Linked DNA regions of Homo sapiens: region 1 is linked to region 2. Evidence: promoter capture Hi-C in human tissues and cell types (Jung and others, 2019). All regions are on one chromosome and are shown on one strand. The core of a region is centred on a gene start or on the middle of the fragment in contact, and the rest is flanking DNA. Distances in the headings are between cores, read along the strand shown. Region 1 overlaps AKAP13 (A-kinase anchoring protein 13). Region 2 holds the start of ZSCAN2 (zinc finger and SCAN domain containing 2).

Region 1 (2,879 bases), core at 74-2,573, 1.1 Mb before region 2:
CTAAAACAAACAGTCCAGCCTTCAACTTCTTTCTTTGCTACAAGGAGGCATCAAACCAAAGAAAATGAAGTTAAACCCACATGACTGGAAACTATCATCTATCTATTGCTGTATCTTTTTTTTAACCCATGCCACCAACCACCACAGATCTTTGGCGAATGGTTATATACTATGTGTTTTTTATCTTTCGGAAGAAAAATAAAACAAACCATTAGCGAGGCTAACTTAAGAAAATCAACTTTATACAATGATAAGAGGAGTGGCCATGCCAAACTGAAATGAAATGACAGAATATCAAAGGACTGCCTACACAGAAACGAGCCACCTTTGGGAGCTGAGTCATATGCAGCCAAGGCTCTGACAAAAAAGGTCTTCCAGTACTTCAGTTCATTGATCATCACTTGGGAATAGGCTGAAGACTTCTGACTGTTCTGCCTACAGATGTGAGCAGCAAAATCTAACTGGGAAAAATGACCTGATTCTTCTCCAGGACACAAGTTGAGGAATTACCTTTAAGGATAGAAATGCACAACTTTCTCCTATCATTTCAACTCTAACCAAGAAAATGAAAATAAAACAAAAAACAGTTAAATATGAGCAAATTTAGAAATGCATGCTACAAAATTCTTTCTGCAACTTTAAACTTCTTGTTTAAAATCTTTAACAGAGACCCTGTCTCTCAAAAAAAAATTATTAAATATATGTGTGTGTATATATATATATATATATTTTTTTTTTTTGAGATGGAGTCTTGCTCTGTCACCCAAGCTGGAGTGCAGTGGTACGATCTTGGCTCACTGCAACCTCTGCCTCCTGGGTTCAGGTGATTCTGCTGTCTCAGCCTCCTGAGTAGCTGGGATTACCGGTCCATGCCACTACGCCTGACTAATTTTTTGTATTTTTAGTGGAGATGGTATTTCGCCATGTTGGCCAGGCTGGTCTCAAACTCCTAACCTCAGGTGATCCACCCGCCTCAGCCTTCCAAAGTGCTGGGATCACAGGCGTGAGCCACGGCACCTGGCCAATAAATAAAATCTTTGGGGGATTTGAGACATCGCCCTATCTGGACTAAGAGTGCTTATATGCAAAAGGCATGTGAGATGTTCTTGGTAGCTGGTGTAATAACCACAGTGCTGATGTACAGAACAAGAAGAAAGCCACAAAAAAGAGCCAAATCATCTCAGCTGAAGTAGCCCCAGCAGCAGTTTTCGTAACAACACTGGTAAACAAAAATGAAATAAAATGAAAGTATTCTGCTTAAAAAAGAATTGCCTTTATTGCTTAGGGTCTTTTTTTACCTTCCTTTTCCCTAAGTAATAAACTTCCTTCCTTTAATCAACTATATGTATTTTATTCTCTCATATAAGCAATGAACTATAAATGCCAGAAAACTGTCTAGAGGGCAACTTTTCTGATGAAATCAGAAGTAAAATCTAACCATCACACACATTCTAAATTCTTATGTTTCCTACTTAGATTGCAGCTGGTTTACTTGTTTATTTTTTATGTAAAAGAAACAACCTACCACAAAAGTACTGAAATGCTGCTAGCACAACAGAAAATAAATCAGCAATAATCTCAGTATCATTTTACATCTGTTTAAAGCAAGCAAAACAGAACCACTGGCAAGACCCCAAAACCTGAACATAACAAATTCCTTATTCTGAAAGACCCCACTAAGTCACTAAGCTTTTCAAAGAACAAATTATTTGTGGCAGCTGGAAAGAACAGCTGACTATTCAAGGACAGCTTTACATAATAGAGAAATAAGAGTTGAAAAGACATTCCTCTATTAACCCTGTTAAAGTCACCTAATCCTAAAGCAAGAGTAGCGTTTTGGCTGAGATAAAAAGTCCCAGTTTCTTGTATAAACCATCATAACATATCATCATGATGGACTATATGGCTGATCTTTCTAACCACAAGTCAAAGGTGACTATGCAGTGCTGAGGGTATGAAGCTCTATCCAGGGGTCAGCCAAACAGGGTTACACTTAACCACAATGGGAAGCCACTGTCTCCTAAGAGCACAAAGGTTTCCTAGGAGGTAAACGACTAACTGCATGGATGCTACATTTCCTACGACTCCTGGGAAGATCCTGGACATGAGACGCGATGGAGGGAAGTGACGAAAGATTCTGCGTCCCCAAATTACTCATATTTTCTACTTCCTGCCAAGATAACACATGGGACTTCCTACATACAAACATTCAGCTTCTTCAGGAAGCTGAAGATAATCAGCCCATTACTTTGGTTCCTTTGAGAAGATGACTACATACTATTTTGTTGCTTTCAATCCTTTTCACTCCTTTTGTGTGTGTGTGTGTGTGTGTGTGTGTGTGTGAGTCTTGCTCTGTCACCCAGGCTGAAGTGCAATGGCGCGATCTTTGGCTGACTGTAACCTCCGCCTCCCGGGTTCGAGCAGTTCTCCTGCCTCAGCCTCCCAAGTAGCTGGGGATTACAAGCGCCCACCATCATGCCCAGCTAATTTTTTGTATTTTTAGTAGAGACGGGGTTTCACCATGTTGGTCAGGCTGGTCTTGAACGCCTGATCTCGTGATCCACCTGCCTTGCCCTCCTAAAGTGCTGGGATTACAGGCGTGAGCCACCGTGCCTGGCCTACCCCCTTCTTTTTATAAGAGGCAGGCTGCAGACTGTCTTACATAAACCTTAATGCTATCACCAGATGTTGAGACTATTTCTACATTACTTCTGGAGTAGGGTGGTATGCAAATTAAAGAATGTATTTTTGAAACTTAGTGCATATTAGGGTAACAGTCAAGCCCAACTTAAACTATTCCTTTTTGCTGTCTGATACTTTTCAGTTTAAACCTCAAATATAGCCAGGCATGGTGGCTCACGCCTGTAATCCCAACACTT
Region 2 (2,738 bases), core at 35-2,534:
TAGACACAGTAAGTCCTCAATTCCCTTTAAAAATGAACTCACAGCCGGGCGCGGTGGCTCAGACCTGTAATCCTAGCACTTTGGCAGGTTGAGGCGGGCGGATCACCTGAGGTCGGAAGATCGAGACCAGCCTGACCAACACGGAGAAACCTCGTCTCTACTAAAAACAAAATTAGCCAGGCGTGGTGGCGCATGCCCGTAATCCCAGCTACTCCGGAGGCTGAGGCAGGAGAATCGCTTGAACCCGGGAGGCAGAGGATGCGGTGAGCGGAGATCAGGCCATTGCACTCCAGCCTGGGCAACAAAAGCAAAACTCCGTCTCAAAAAAAAAAAAAAAAAAAAATGAACTCACAGGAAAAAAGAACGGGACGGCACCTACAAAATATTGAAAGCAGTGGAATTGCAAACGACTTAAAATATTATAAAAGCAATACAAAATTATTTTTAGCCCAAGCGCTGTAGCTCACGCCTGTAATTCCAGCACTTTGGGAGGCCGAGGAGGGAAGATGGCTTGAGGCCGGGAGTTCATGACCAACCTGGGCAACAGAGTGAGACCCAGTCTCTACAAAAATAAAAAAATTTTTTAAAAAATCATTACTACATCATAAAGACTCAACTAACAACCCTCCCTCAATGAAAAGGGGAGAAAAGCTGACAAAAGCTTAAAAAAAAAAGGACAAAAAATAAAAGCTAGTGGGAAAACCGAAGCTCTCAACGTGTATTTACTCAAATGACTAGAAGAAATACTGGCATATGGTGTAAGAGAACTCTTCCTACTTGGGAGCCTGGGAAAAGTGTGCCAGGTCAGCTAATTTGCGGTCTGACTTGGGGCACGACACGCCCCCTCTGAACCTCAGTTTCCCCATCTGTAAAACGTGTACGCTGCGCGGGATGTCGTCGAATGCCCCTTCCCGTCCAAAGCCTGCGCTTCTCGGTAGGAGAGGCAAGGAGCTCTCCGCCAGGGAGACGCGTCCGGGACGGTTCGCTGAGCGGAGCCGGCGCGTAAATCGGGGCTGCAGGGCCCGCAGGATACGGAGCGCGACCCCGACGCCCCTCCCCCAGCAGAGCTGCCGGCAGCTGGCTCCAGGCCCACTATTCCCTCACCTCGGGCTACTGCCCGGGGTCCGCGTGGCTCCAGGCCTGCCTCTCCGGCTCACCTCTCGGGAGACCAGGTCCTGCTCTAGCGGTTGCTTCGCGTGCGAAAGCGCCCCCGGGCTCGGCCCGGCCCCTCCAGATTCACCCCGGCTCAAGCCCGTGGGGCACCGAGAACAATGGACGGGAGAGGCCCGCCCACCGCCGCGCTCATTGGCTGCCGAGAACGGCCCTGGAAATTCTGCCTTTCTGTTGGTGGAGACGGCACCCAGCCGGGCGGCAGGAGGGAGGCTGGGCCCAAGGCATTGTGGGAGATGTAGTCCGCCCGGAGACGAACCTGACCGCGGTCCCCGGAGTAGGGTTTGGGGCTGACAGCCTGGGCAGTGCCTGCGGACCAGAGGCAGGAAAATCCGCAGACTGACCGTCAGAAACCCTGTGTTGGCTAGAGCTGTAACCCGAGACAAGCCGTTTCACTTATCTAAGGCCTCTGTATATTTGTCTATAAAAAGTGAAAGTTGGATGGCCGGACTTGAAGGACCTTTTCGGCTGCGAACCTTGTGGCAAGGAGTATTGTTAGGCACCCTCGACCGGCGAGAGCGGACCCTGGGCAGGAAGGGAATCCATGGGGGAACAAATCCTCATCGCCCAAGCCTGGCGCCTTTCCCCCAGTTTGCAGCTGTACACATGCACCCGGTCTTCGCACACCCCTTTGTTTTCGCACGTGGTATTCCTGTGTTTGGAGGAACGCCCTGCCCCGCCTCCTCTGCCGCGGAACTCCCATTCTTCCAGCTTCTCCTGGGTGGAGCCTGCCCTGTCATCACCACCTCCCCAGGCAGAGACACCGCCCCTAGTACACGTGTTGGACGTCCCCATTTTATTTTTTAAATATATATATGTATGTATTTGTATATATATATATATATTTATTTATACACACACACTCACAGACAGGATCTACATTTCATAGAGACAGGGTTTCCATATGTTGCCCAGGCTGACCTCGAACCCCTGGGCTCAAGCGATCCTTCCTCCTCAGCCTCCCAAAGTGCTGGAATTACAGGTGTGAGCCACCGCACCTGGCTGACGTCTCCATTTTAGTACTGATCACCGGGTTGCTTACTTGTCAATCTCAGTATGGGGGAAGGGAGGGTGCCCGGGTGTGGGAGGTTGGCCTCCATCTTTGTGTTTTACGGCTGGCGCTGTTGAAGAAACGGCTGCCCCAACCCTGCTTGAAAACAGGTGAGAAACTACCTGGAAACTCAAGCGGAAAATCTAAAAATGGAGAGAGACACCCTTAATGGTCTGTGATAGAATAGTTATGTATGTTTGCACTGAGCAATTACTGGAGGCACCTGCAATGAAATGACTGCTTTTTTTTTTCCTCCTCTGTCGCCCAGGCTGGAGTGCAGTGACACGATCTCGGATCAAGTGATTCTCCTGCCTCAGCCTCCCAAGTAGCTGGGATTACCGGCGTGCGCCACCACACCTGGCTAATTTTGCGTGTTTTTAGTAGAGACAGAGATTTCACCATGTTGATCAGGCTGGTCTTGAATTCCTGACCTCAGGTGATCCAGCCGTCTTGGCCTCCCAAAGTGCTGAGATTACAGGCATGAGCCACGTGCCCGGTCCTTTTCCCATTTTTAAAT

Evidence for each region. Contacts are between HindIII fragments. The study calls those that stand out against the background at their distance.
Region 1: a contact is called between a fragment that was not itself captured here and the fragment with the promoter of ZSCAN2 in region 2, in 1 of the 25 tissues and cell types used here (lymphoblastoid cells).

Annotation. Positions count from the first base shown.
Region 1 is chr15:85,701,704-85,704,582 of GRCh38, reverse strand. The region is part of intron 17 of AKAP13 (A-kinase anchoring protein 13); the gene reads right to left. Among named protein-coding and RNA genes, the nearest start is that of LINC02883, 56 kb to the left of the region's middle. The HindIII fragment of the contact is 3,862 bases long and covers 1-2,879 here.
Region 2 is chr15:84,599,555-84,602,292 of GRCh38, reverse strand. It overlaps ZSCAN2 (zinc finger and SCAN domain containing 2), which reads right to left and starts at 1,284. Exons shown (of 3, transcript NM_181877.4): 1 at 1,158-1,284. It overlaps LOC105370947 (a long non-coding RNA gene), which reads left to right. Exons shown (of 4, transcript NR_186225.1): 4 at 2,490-2,738. RefSeq lists a silencer at 917-1,066 and an enhancer at 1,387-1,436. The HindIII fragment of the contact is 21,972 bases long and covers 1-2,738 here.